Linked DNA regions of Homo sapiens: all the other regions are linked to region 2. Evidence: promoter capture Hi-C in human tissues and cell types (Jung and others, 2019). All regions are on one chromosome and are shown on one strand. Each heading gives the region's core, a stretch centred on a gene start or on the middle of the fragment in contact. The rest is flanking DNA. Distances are from core to core; before and after follow the strand shown.

The links. The method cuts DNA at HindIII sites, captures the fragments that hold promoters and counts their contacts. A contact is called where the count stands out against the background at its distance.
Region 1: a contact is called between a fragment that was not itself captured here and the fragment with the promoter of KCNE4 in region 2, in 3 of the 25 tissues and cell types used here (liver, mesendoderm cells and thymus).
Region 3: a fragment that was not itself captured here is called in contact with the fragment with the promoter of KCNE4 in region 2 in 2 of the 25 tissues and cell types used here (H1 embryonic stem cells and thymus).

The regions. Positions count from the first base shown.
Region 1 is chr2:223,243,957-223,248,314 of GRCh38, reverse strand. No RefSeq gene overlaps it. Among named protein-coding and RNA genes, the nearest start is that of KCNE4, 190 kb to the right of the region's middle. The HindIII fragment of the contact is 5,048 bases long and covers 1-4,358 here.
Region 2 is chr2:223,050,177-223,054,436 of GRCh38, reverse strand. It overlaps KCNE4 (potassium voltage-gated channel subfamily E regulatory subunit 4), which reads right to left and starts at 2,247. Exons shown (of 2, transcript NM_080671.4): 1 at 2,163-2,247; 2 at 1-1,629. The coding sequence starts at 1,606. The coding sequence ends at 1,094. RefSeq lists an enhancer at 1,392-1,939. The HindIII fragment of the contact is 5,924 bases long and covers 1,162-4,260 here.
Region 3 is chr2:223,183,859-223,188,290 of GRCh38, reverse strand. No RefSeq gene overlaps it. Among named protein-coding and RNA genes, the nearest start is that of KCNE4, 130 kb to the right of the region's middle. The HindIII fragment of the contact is 5,685 bases long and covers 1-4,287 here.

The sequences.
Region 1 (4,358 bases), core at 620-3,119, 190 kb before region 2:
TGTATTTTTGCTGTAATTTTGTGACCGAAGAAATTGAAGCTAAATCGCTAATTGGTTTACCCCAAGAATATCTAACCACCAGGGGAGATGATAATGTAAGCCTATCTTATTCCTAAGCTTTCTCTATACCCTTATTTTCCCCTTACAGACTATGTACATAGAATTTTTTATTCATTCACGACCCACCTTTATTCTGAGCTGCTATAGAGAATCCCTAACCATCATTAATGAATAAATTCCTGTTACACATCACTGCATAGAGTTTCCTACGTGAGAAGCATTTTAACAGTAAATCAGTATCTTTAGTTAAGAGCTTCTGGTTTTTGATTGGGGGCTCATATTTAGAACACTCTTATATATAAGAGACCAACAGATTAAAATATAATTTTTATACAGAAATGAAGACCATTACTTGCCACAAAGCTACAATGCACCTAATTTGATTGAATTATAAAAGCTAGCATTCTAAGCAAGATTTAGGAGTTTGAAGGGACAAAAGGAGGTAGCTGACCAGAGAATCCATAAGAACAATAAGGACTAACATACATCAAACGTTACTCTATGCTCTACTCACCACAAACATTATTTCATTTTGCCCTCACCACAATATAGAGAGATAGGAACCATTATTAATCCCATTTCACTGAAGATGAAAAAACTGAGGCCTAAATAGTTGAGTAGCCAGGAGATAACACTACTGTAATAGGAGAGCTTAGATTCCAATTCTTGTAGCCCTTCTGAAGAACTCAGATCTTAATTACTACTAAAATGCAACAAAACAGATGGGTCACAGCAGATCTGGCTTCTAAGGAGAATACTTTTTTATTCGCTCTAAGTAGTTACATTTTATTATATTTTGTTACGCTTACATAAAAGGAAATTTATAAAACAAAACATCTTGAGTTTATACACATGAAGCTCTTCAGTCAACTAGATTTCCACCATGTTGTTTCCGAACAGTGCTCTTCCCCAGTCTCACTGCATCACTCTGCCCCCATCTGGTGGTGGCATACATACACTCCAGAAAAGAAGAAACATTTTAAACCACATTTAGTGATAAATTTATGAAATATCTGTCTTCTTCATCATTAACTAGAACACCAAAGACTTCCCACAGTGTAAAGTACCATTATTTGACAAAAAGATTTTAAGAAACAAAGTCCATTAAAATAAGTAAATGTAGTCTATTTCATGTTAGTGAAACCAAGTTTATCAATTTAAATTTTGCTACATGCAAATAAAACATTATTTTTAAAAATAGGGAGAGGGACTAAGATGGCCAGTTAGAAGCAGCTGTGGTCCACGACACTCATGGGGAGGAACGAAATGGGACAGTGACTATGACACCTTCAACTGAAATATCCAGGTTCTTATGCCAGGACTGATTAGGGAAACAACTCCACCCACAGAGAATGAAGAAAAGCAGGGTGGGATGACAGACCACCTAGGAATAACACAGCACCAAGGGAACCCCTACCCCCAGCCAAGGGAATTGGTGAGTTATTGTGCAACCCCAGGAAACCACACTTTTCCTACAGGTCTTTGTAACCCATAGATCAGGAGATCCCCTTGTGAACCCATGCCACCAGGGGCTTGGTTCCAACATACAGAACTGTGTGGAGTCTTGGCAGAGTAGCTGCTCAGGCAAACACAGAGATCCAGGAGCTTTGTATACTCCAGCCCCAGGATCCCTGGGGATCCAGGTCTGGAACTCAGGCAAGGTGGGAGGTCCACATATACCTTTTGCAAGGGGGTGGAATCCAGGGAGTTGAGCAGTGTCATTCTCCAGGCCCCACTTCTACGGCACCTCACAAGATAAGACCCACTGGCTTGGAATTCCAGCCAGACACAGGCAACAGAATAGAGGCTGCCTGAGACTGGATAGAGACCCTAAGGGGAGGGTTGGGTGCCATCTCTGCTGTTTGGTTTACTCAGCCATTCCAGCCTGTGGGCTTTGGAGAGTCCAGGTGGTTCTGACAAGGAAGGGTCCCCCCAGCAGCACAGCACAGTAGCTTTGTAAGATCATGGCCAGACTGCTTCTTTAAGTGGGGCCCTGATCCATTCTCCTTCACTGAGTGGGACCTCCCAGCCAGGCCCTCCAGCCCCACCTACCCACACAGACTGTGGACTGAGCTCTGATCTCTCCCTGGGATGGAGTGCCTTGGAGAGGGGAGGGCTGCCACCTGGGTTAGTTGGACGACTCAGCCGTTTCAACTTGTGGGCCTTGGAGAGTCCAAGTCAAGAGGGGCAGAAGCAGTTCCCCACCAAGACATAGCTCTTTTGTCAAGGCATGGCCAGACTGCTTCTTTAAGTGTGACCCCAATCCACTCCTCTTCATGGGACAGGTCCTCCCAGCTGGAGCCTCCCAGCCAGGGCCTCCAGCCACTCTCAGCAGGCTTCTCAGTGGAAACCCTATAAGCTAGAAGAGATCGGGGGCCAATATTCAACATTTTTAAAGAAAAAAATTTCTAACACCAAATTTCATATTTCATTTCCTCATTATTTCCTTGTCTGAAAGGATCTTATTTCTCTTTCACTTATGAAGTTTAATTTGAAATAAGATCCTTTGCAGGTAAGCAAATGCTGAGGAAATTTTTTACCACCTGACCTGCCTTACAAGAGGTCCTGAAGGAAGCACTAAATATGGAAAGCAAAAACTGTTACCAACCACTAGAAAAACACACTGAAGCACACAAACCAGTGACACTATGAAGCAACCATGTAAACAAGTCTGCAAAATAACCAGCTACCATCATGATGACAGAATCAAATCCACACATAACAATACTAACCTTAAATATAAATGGGCTAACTGCCCCCAATTAAAAGACACAGAATGGCAAGCTGGATAAAGAACCAAGACCCATCAGTATGCCGTCTTCAAGAGATCCGTCTCACATGCAAAGACACACATAGGCTCAAAATAAAGGGATGGAAGAAAATTTACAAAGCAAATGGAAAACAGAAAAAAGCAAGGGTTGCAATCCTAGTTTCTAACAAAACAGACTTTAAGCCAACAAACATCAAAAAAGACAAAAAAGTGAGTTACATAAAGGACATAAAGGTAGAGTTCAATTCAACAACAAAAAAGCGAACTATCCTAAATATATATGCACCCAATACAGGAGCACCCAGATTCATAAAGCAAGCTCTTAGAGACCTTCAAATAGACTTAGACTTGCACACAATAATAGTGGGAGGCTTTAACACCTCACTGACAATATTAGACAGATCATAGAGAGAGAAAATTATCAAAGATATTAAGTACCTGAACTGAACTCTGGATCAAGTGGACCTGATAGATATCTACAGAATTCTCTACCCAAATTCAACAGAATATACATTATTCTCATTGCCATATGGCACTTACTCTAAAATTGATCACATAATCGAAAGTAAAACATTCCCCAGCAAATGCAAAAGAACTGAAATCATAACAAACAGTCTCTCAGACTACAGCACAATCAAATTCAAAATCCAGACTGAGAAATTCACCCAAAACCACACAACTATGTGGAAATTGAATAATGTGCTCCTGAATGACTCTTGGGTAAATAATGAAATTAAGGCAGAAATCAAGAAGTTCTTTGAAACTAATGAGAACAAAGATACGATATACCAGAATCTCTGGGACCCAACTAAAGCAGTGTTAACAGCGAAATTTATAGCACTAAATGTTCACATCAAAAACCTACAAAAATCTCATGTTAACAACCTAACATCACAACAAAAAGAACTAGAGAACCAAGAGCAAACAAACCACAAAGCTAGAAGAAGATGAGAAATAACCAAGATCAGAGCCAAACTGAAGGAAATGGAGACACCAAAAAAACACTTCAAAAAATCAGTGAATCCAGAAGCTGGATTTTGAAAAAATTAATAAAATAGATAGACATCTAGCTAGACTAATAAAGAAGAAAAGAGATAAGATTCAAATAAACACAATCAGAAATGATAATAGGGATGTCACCACTGACCCCTCAGAAATACAAACAACCATCAGCAAATACTATAAACACCTCTATGCAAATAAACTAGAAAATCTAGAATAAAGGACAAATTTCTGGACACATGCACCTTCCCAAGACTGAACCAGAAGAAACTGAATCCCTGAATAGACCAATAATGGGTTCTGAAACTGAGGCAGTGAAAATAGCCTACCAAAAAAAAAAACCCAGGATGAGATGGATTCACAGCTAAATTCAACCAGAGGTACAAAAAAGAGCTAGTACCATTTCTACTGAAACTATTCCAAAAAACTAGAAAAGGAAGGACTCCTCTCTAACTTACTCTATGAGGCCAACATCATCCTGATACCAAAACCTGGCAGAGATACAACAAAAAAGGAAAGCTTTAGG
Region 2 (4,260 bases), core at 998-3,497:
GTCCTAAAATCTAAAGACATCCTCCCAACCCCCTGGGGATGGAGATCGTCGGGAGCCTCATGCAGACAGCGAGCTTCTTGATGACATGCCCGGGACCACACAGCAAATGAGTGTCAGGGCTCGGGATCAGGAAGCACAGAACTTGGAGCCCAGCTTTGTGCAATCTCCGCCTGAGTATGCCCTTCTAGGTCTCAGCTACGTGACGAAATACCACATTATGTCCTCTCCCAGCTCAGAAAACTAGGCTGGGAAACTGAGCAGCAGCAGAGCTAACGGCTTGGCCTTGTTCAACCCCACTTTACCCCTTCTAGAAAGATCAGGAAGAGTCTCCTGAACCACCATCGGGAGTGCAGGTTAGATTCTGGGGAAGCTCTTCTGATCCAAAGAACGTCATGCCATCATGTGATGCTGCATGGTCACAGGTCAGAGTTCAAGGTCATAAGTTAGACAAAAGGTCAAAATAGAAGATCATCTCTTATAACCCCGGCCAATGTTAACAGGTTTAAAAGTTACTTTTTTTTCTTATAGTGTGCAAATGGGCTGGGTTCAGATCTCCAGCTTTCTCCCATCAAAAATCCCCCTCTAATCCAAAAGAAGCTTGTAACCCACTGTGAAGGAATGCCACAGGTACACAGTAGAGATACTTACAGCCAATCAGATCTAGAAGGACAAAGCTCTAGGCAAAATAGCAAATCACAACTAGTCTCTCAGCGTGTCCTAAGCATTCGGCAGCCCTGGGAACAGGCAGACCCTGCAGGAGCTACCCAGGGCATCCAGTGAGAAAATGGCAAACATATCATCCCGCCAAATTCTGATCAGAACCCCAACACCCAGGCCCCAAAGTCAGTGTACGCGCTGCGCATCTCCGCGGCTTTTTCAGTGGTGGGTGCAAACCACAGGCACCTCCCGGACTCCTTGGAGGTGCTGGTTCCGGCTGAGCCTAGTCCCCCACCCCACCCCGAATCAGGGGTTTACCAAGGGTCTCTTCAAAGTGGCAGCCGCACTGTGAAAGTGAAACCAGACACTTGAAAACTGTCTTTCCTCTCTCTAAGGTTGCTGGCTGATGGAGCCACCGGCAGGGGTCCCGGGGGTGCTAGGAATTCTGATGGATGTTCTCCGAGGACCCTTCGCTGCTCTCGTTGAGGGGCGTCTCCGAGGTCTCCTCCAGCTCATCGTCTGCCCCCTCCTCCTGAATGGTGAGGTGCACGTCCGGGGAGGAGGACTCGGAGCTCACGCTGTCCCCTTCCATGGAACAGAGGGTGCAGGACAGCGCGGGCGCCACGCTCTCCTGCAGCATGTTCAGCATCAGGGGCACCTGCACCGACCTCAGGCCCGACACCACAGGCAGCGGCTTCATGGCCTCCCCCCAGAGCCGCTCCTCGTCTTTGTACAGCAGCAGGAGGCTGGACTTCTTCTCCCGCCTCTTGGATTTCATGTAGCCCAGCATGATTCCGATCAAGAAAATGCCGTAGAAGGACATGACAACCAGAATGTAGAAGTACTCGTTGCCATTGCCGCTGCCGCCGCCGGCCGCACGGGACTCCAGGGGGCTGCTGGAGGCGGCGGTGCCGGGGTGCGTGCTGTTCAGAGGCTCCATTTTCAGCATTGAGGCTGCCTCCACAGCAGGGGCTGGGGAAAAAGCCGCAGGTTAGAACTCTCCCCCAGGTCCTGGGCACAGGGAGGTGGGGGAGCACGAGGTTTGTGGAACTGCAATACCAAAAAAGCTTAAAAGTGCATGAAAGAAATAGCATAAGAGGGTTCGCCAAACAGCTGACAAGAGTGAGCTATGAGGGCTTGGAGTGCACGGGAGAGAAGCCCGGGAAGGTTCACTGGGAAAAGTAAGAAGGACTTTTTTTTTTTTTTTTAGTGTACACATTTGTCCTGTTTGTAGTGAGCAGTATTACTTTGATTAAAAAAAAAATCAATGTAAGACAGGAGCATACAGTAAATAGTATCTTTAAAACTGGGAAACGTATTTTAACTGAGCAGAAACAAAGTTTACATTGTGTTTCCAAAACCAAACTATTTTAAATTCAAAACAATGTTTCCTTAGAACAAAGAAAAGCAGGAAGAAAATAAAGGAAAAAAATTCATCTATTAATTGGCAAAAATGTCCCTCTTTCAAATGTTTCTGAAAGCAAAGTGTAGCCTTGCTGACTTACCAAGGCTGACAGTTTGTCCCAAGTTTTGAATTCCCAAATCGTCCAGTCCAAGAGGGTTCTTCTGCTCTGTCCGGCTCTGCGCTCTGACAACTCCGCTGCTGCAGTTGGGATATATAGTCAAGAAGTGCATCGTCACGTGCTCTGGGAGGAAAATTTACAACAGAGATTGATCGTGGCAGAGTGAGCAGTGAACTGAAAGCACTGCAGTTCAACTCCCTGAACTTTGCAGCTGTGAAAAGTGAAAAAGACTGGGAAGTGGGAACTGCTCCTCAAGCCCCAGCACCCGGCCAGGGTTTTCAGGTAGCGGTGACGATGAGTGAAAAGAGGAGAAAGGGATGTGCTGTGCTGGAACCGTTACCCCAAAGTCCGCGCTCACTGAAAATTAGCTCATGCTTCGCGCGGCTCCTGGGGAATAACCATTATTGGGCTACAGGTTTTCAGAGGCAGCTGAATCCCATAATCTGGATGAAAGACAGTTGGAAGCAAGTGCGGGATTTACAGTCAAGGAACTGGGGCTTCGGTTTCAGTTCTTCCACTCCTTATGCAAATAAGATAAATCCTTCCTTAACCTCTCCGCACCTCACATTCCTCGTCTGTAAAATCGTTGTGCCTGGCGGGGGGGGGGGTCTTCTGCAGGTAGGATTATATAAACCACGTGACCTTTTGAGACCCTTTCAGCTTAACCCTTCTAAGATTGAAGGCTGCCTGGTGTTGCTTAGCCCTCTAAAAGCAGAGATTCTAGCTGCCTTCCACATCAAGGTCACAAACCTATGTTTATAATAATTTTTTTTTAAAAGCTCCCACATTCTTTTCAGTGGTCTGCATTAAGTGGAAACATGTTGTCGTAAAAGATACTATGGGCAGGTTTTGTTCCGTCCTGCCATACACAGCTGCTCCTCTGAAGCCTCATGCGGAGGCTATTGACACGTCTCTTTGCTGTCTCTCGTAGGTCAGGGGAGGAGCAGGACTATTTCAGAGTGCAACTAAGCACAGTTCAAGTTTTTTAAACCTCGGTAGACCCTGTGTTTAAATGGCTGCTGTGATCAAAATTGGAAGAGGAATTGCAGGCTTTAATGTCAGTCTCTCTGCTCCCTGGGCTGCTTATTCTGAGGCTTTCATGCTAAGTGGAAGGAAACTGGGAGAGATCCACTCCCTCCAGTTGTCTGTGGCCTGTGGATTGCAGCCAGACTGTCTTGTGGGCCAACTCTAAAGGAAACATCTCTCATGGTTCTGCTGTAGTCAAACTGACGCATGCGACATCCACCTGACCTGCTTGAACATATATAGCTTAGGCACTGGAATTTTCACTGCTGCTACAGGAACCCCCCTGGGTTTGCACCTGATCCTGATTCTAAGAAGACACCTGGAGGAAGAATAGGAAGATGAACTGAATGCTGCCATTTTTCCCACTTGACTACTCACCTGTGTTCATCCATAAATCCCCAGCTGGCACTGGAGGTACCAACCATCGACCACTCCAGCATCACGATCATCCATACAGTGGAACTGTGCTCACACCAGTAAAGATACCCTCACCATTGTGTTAATACGTAAAACCCTCCATAGCTACCTCAGCCATGGTAGACTTGGTCTTTTCAACAGGTGTCCATCATAAACACTAGAACACTTCCATCTATATCTAAGCCTACACTGGAATGTCTGGGACACTAGAACAAGATGGGCCCAAGAAAGAGATGCCTGTTGATTGTTGACCCTGGTATTTTTTATTGTATACCTTAGGACATACGAGATTGGTCATCATCCAGGGATTGTCCAACACCAAAGACTGGAAGCTTTGAGTAGGCAGAAAGGAGGTGGGGATAGGAGTTACCAGATTCAAGGAGCAGGAAGTACAAAGCCTGGTGCCAGGAAGCCAAACAGAGGCTGAAGTTTTAAACATAATAAATCCCCAAACCTGAGCCAACAGTCCCAAGGGAATACAACCAAGAAAAGAGATGAGTGTGGGGAAACATCGAGAATGAATTCCAAAGGACGAAGCAAGTCAGAGCCAAAGGAAAAGCAGGACTAATTGCAGGAGTCAGGGAAGGAACAGCCCAGAAGAAATTCTGGGGTGCCTGCTTGGAGTCCCTGCTGCCCC
Region 3 (4,432 bases), core at 196-2,695, 130 kb before region 2:
ATCAGGCTGTTGGTTGTTAGACTCTCTCTGTAAAATAATAATTTGTCATAGCCAGTGCCAGAAAAAAAAAAAAAAAGTCTCTCAATAGATAGAAAACACCTGAACCTGGTGAGCAGCAGCTTCCCAATAAGATCTCAAGACCAGGGCAAGCAGGCTCAAGGATGTGCATGAAGAGGTGAAATGGCAGAGTTTAACCAGTAGATGACCTTCCTCTGGGAACACTCACCTGGTAAGGGAAAAATGCCTCAAGTGAACATGCACACAACTGCAATAAACACACTGAACATGCAGCCCCTCCCAAGTGCTGGCAGGCCACTGTGGATGTGCACAGTCCACCCCAAGGGGAAAATCAAGGGAGGAGAAACAAACCCCAGAACCATGCCACTGCATAAAACCCCAAGCCCAGGGCCAAACAGGGCACTTGGATCTTTCAAGTCACCTGCTTGTCCCTCTTCCAGGTGTACTTGACTTCCTTTTGTTCCTGTTCTAAAACTTTTTAATAAACTTTCACTCCTGCTCTAAAAACTTGCCTTGATTTTTCCCTCTGCCTTAAACTTACTTCTGCCCATCGGTCAAATTCTCTCCTCTGAGGAGGCAAGGCTCAAGTTTGCTGCAGACTCCCACAGATTTGCCGCTGGTAACACTCGGAAGCCGGGCTGGAATTTGGTGAGAAAAGTGGCTGTCGTCCCAACAAAATCTCTCTGTGAAGGGCTCCAGCATCATGGGAATCTGCCTGCCTTTTTTGAGATAACCCAATCTTGTCAGTGGGACTGCTAAAAGAACTTGAAATCTGGCTTCATGCAGTCCCAGCAAAACCTAGAAAGATGACATGCCTAGACAAGCTCCTGAAGTCCTCTTCCTATACACACAAGCATTCTTCTAGTAGTTTATAACTCAAAGGTGAACCATTTACCACCTGCCTACAAATGCTTTGAGGATGTTTATTGATATTGCAGTCTGGGCTTAGGTACTTTCATGGTCTCCCCACCATCACTTTGGTTTGGGAAATCAAAAACTCTAACAGAACAACCAGAAGTACCACTGAAGAGAAGTCAAAGCCAGCCATTGCCATGGAAAGACAAAATTAAATTCAGGCATCTTTTCCTTCCAAGCTTGCTGACTTAAGTCTCTAATCAAAGACCTAAGCCATCATGGACCTGTTAGACCTGCCCCACTGACCCCTTTGATGCTGGATTAAGATAATCCAAAAAAGTAGCTACAGATTCAGTTTGTTCAACATATGCCCTGGTAGGAAAATGCCTTTTGAAAGTTTGGCTAAATACTTTTTCCTAATTTTTATTATAAATTAGCTCTGTAGCAGTTTCTAACTTCATGAAGAAACAAATCACATCAGTTTGCAGGAAATAAAACAAGATTGTCTGGGTCTCTTTAATGAAAAACACATATTTATTATAAGTGGGATACTATTTCATCAGTTCTACCACAGTTGGCTGGTTCAGAAATGATTGGCAATAAAGACATTAGTTTAAATGGAGAAAATGAGATTGTATTTGTCTATAATTTATCATGTATTGTTGGAAAATACAAGCAAGGGATTATCTGAAAGTAAAAAATCTGGGACGATTATGAAATCTAAGAACTACAGATAGTGTTAAGAATTCAAATTTTTCACGTTTCCCTCTCAGCCCCAAGGTGGAGTATAAGATAAAAGTTAGGGAACTAAGGTAATTACATATTGACCATTCTCAAGGTGTCTTCAAAACAAATCTTCCCCTGGGAAATTGAAAATCATTTAAAAATTTTAAAAGTAAACTATCATATATTCAGAATAGAAAGCACAAATTATAAGTATATAGATCAATGAATTATTACATGGTGAATATACCTGTGCAATCATCACCTAGATCAAGATATAGAACACTGACTTCCTCCTCCCCACACATAACTATGCACCTGACTTTTAGCTCCTTAGATTTCTCATGCCTAATTTTTGAAGTTCAAGTAAAGTCACATAAGATGTTTTCTTATTTGTATGACTTCTTTTGCTTAATACTATGTTTTGCAGATTTATCTAGTGGTTGTGTGTTCCTATAGATTAATTTTCACTGCTGTATGCTACTGCATTGTATTAACATATTACAGCTTGCTAATTCTTTTTTTTTTCTTTTTTTTTTTTTTTTTGAGATGGAGTCTCACTATGTTGCCCAGGTTGGAGTGCAGTGGCGGAATCTCAGCTCACTGCAAACTCCGCCTTCTGGGTTCAAGCAATTCTCCTGCCTCAACCTCTTGAGTAGCTGGGATTACAGGTGCCCACAGCCATGCCCGGCTAATTTTTGTATTTTTAGTAGAAATGGAGTTTCACCATGTTGGCCAGGCTGGTCTCAAACTCCTGACCTGAAGTGTTCCACCCACCTCGGACTCCCAAAGAGCTGGGATTATAGGCATGAGCCACCACGCCCGGCCAGGTCATTCTTTGTTATTTTACCTAGTCTGATTATTCTTTAGAGGTGACTCATTGAAATATCTCATCATGGTTGTCATTTATATTTCCTATTGTTAATGAGGGTGAGCACCTTTTCAAATGCCTATTGATTATTTTTAAACCCTCCTTTGTGAAGTGGCTGTTGACATCTGTTCCCCCTCCATTTTTGTTGGCTTGTCTTTCTTTTTTTGAATTTGTAGAAATTCTTTATTCATCCTGTATAAAGCCCATTGTTGGTTTATATATAGCAACTATCATCTTCCACCTTATTGCTTATTTTCTCTAACCTTCTCAGCAGCGTTCTTTGAAGAACAAAAAAATCATCTTTTAATGTAATTTATTTGATTTTCCCGTGATATTAGTGGTTTTGTATCCTATTTAAAAAATCTTTCCATGCCTCAAAATTAGGAATATGTTTTCCTATATTATCCTTTAGAAGCTTTATTGTTTTACTTTTATAATTAAATTTAAATGCATCTGTAATTGATTTTCTATGTGGTGTAGGGTTCAAATTTCCTTTTTTACATAAGCATATCTAATTCACTCAACACTGTTTATTGAAAAGACCATCTTTTCCCCATGATTCTGCCATGCCTCCATTTGTCATAAATTAAATGTGGATTAGCCTTTTACTATGGATTTTATATTATCTCAGTACAAGTAGAATAACTTTTCTGATTTCGTTTAAATATATTAATACATGCCAAATCCACTGCTGCTTTAAAAATGTGTTCCCAAAGACCTCCTCTATCTATTAAATATTAAACTCATCTCTTAATATCAATAAGGCCCAATTCCTTGGGCCAAGAGATTGGCATGTATTCATATGATTATGTTATGACTATAAAGATTCATATTTGGACAATATAAGTAGCATGTGAAGACATAATTAAAAAATAAAACAGTACATGTAAACATTATTTCTTTGTTGACATATTCATCTATGCTTTCCCATGAGGATGTAAACTGCACAGGGCAGCCCTTTGTCTTGATTACTGCTCTATCCCCAGCACCCTTTAGGTACTCAACAAATATCTATTTAATTAATCATGAAAGAAAATAGAAAACCCACATGTCTTCTATAATGTTTCAGAGTCCATAGCTAAGAATTAAGGATAGTTTTTTAAAGATATATATTGATAATGTTTTCCATGAGCTATCAAAGACCTGAGATAGTCAGTAATGGGAAATACATCTGTGATTACCCAGTAGCAAATTATCTATGGTAAAGGAAACAAACCAACCCCACTTATGTTTTCTTCAACTTTTATTTTATTTTAAATTCCGGGATACATGCTTGATGTGCAAGTTCATTACGTAGGTAAACATGTGCCATGGTGGTTTGCTGCACAGATCAACTCATCACCTAGGTATTAAGCCCAGCATCCATTAGCTATTCTTCCTGATGCTCTCCCTCCCCTGACCCCCGACAGACCCCAGTGTATGTTGCTCCCCACCATGTGTCCATGTGTTCTCATCGTACAGTTCCCACTTGTAAGTGAGAAAATGCGGTATTTGGTTTTCTATTCCTGTGTTAGTTTGCTCAGGATAACAGCTTCCAGCTCCATCCATGTCCCTGCAAAGGACATGATCTTGTTCCTTTTTATGGCTGCATATATTCCATGGTATATATATACCAACCCCACTTTTCTATTTTTACTGCGACTGACTTCCTCAGTAAGTAAGAGGATTTCCAATCCTCTCCATCGTCTATCTGGATTATTTCAATATTCTCCAATTAGTCTCCATGACTTTGGTCTTGCCTCTCTCTATCCACAAGCCTTCTGCCAAGTCTTTTCTGTTACACAGTTAGGGTCAAGTCACTGATTTCAGACTTTAACATAAAAGCGATGAGCTATCTTCTAAATCCTTAGTATGACACTCAAGGTCCTCACAAACTGGGATAGGAGTGTGGCTGATAGGAAGTATTCAATAGCCATTGCTGAATGACTCATCTCTGCTTACCCATCTAGTGTGTCCTACTTCACC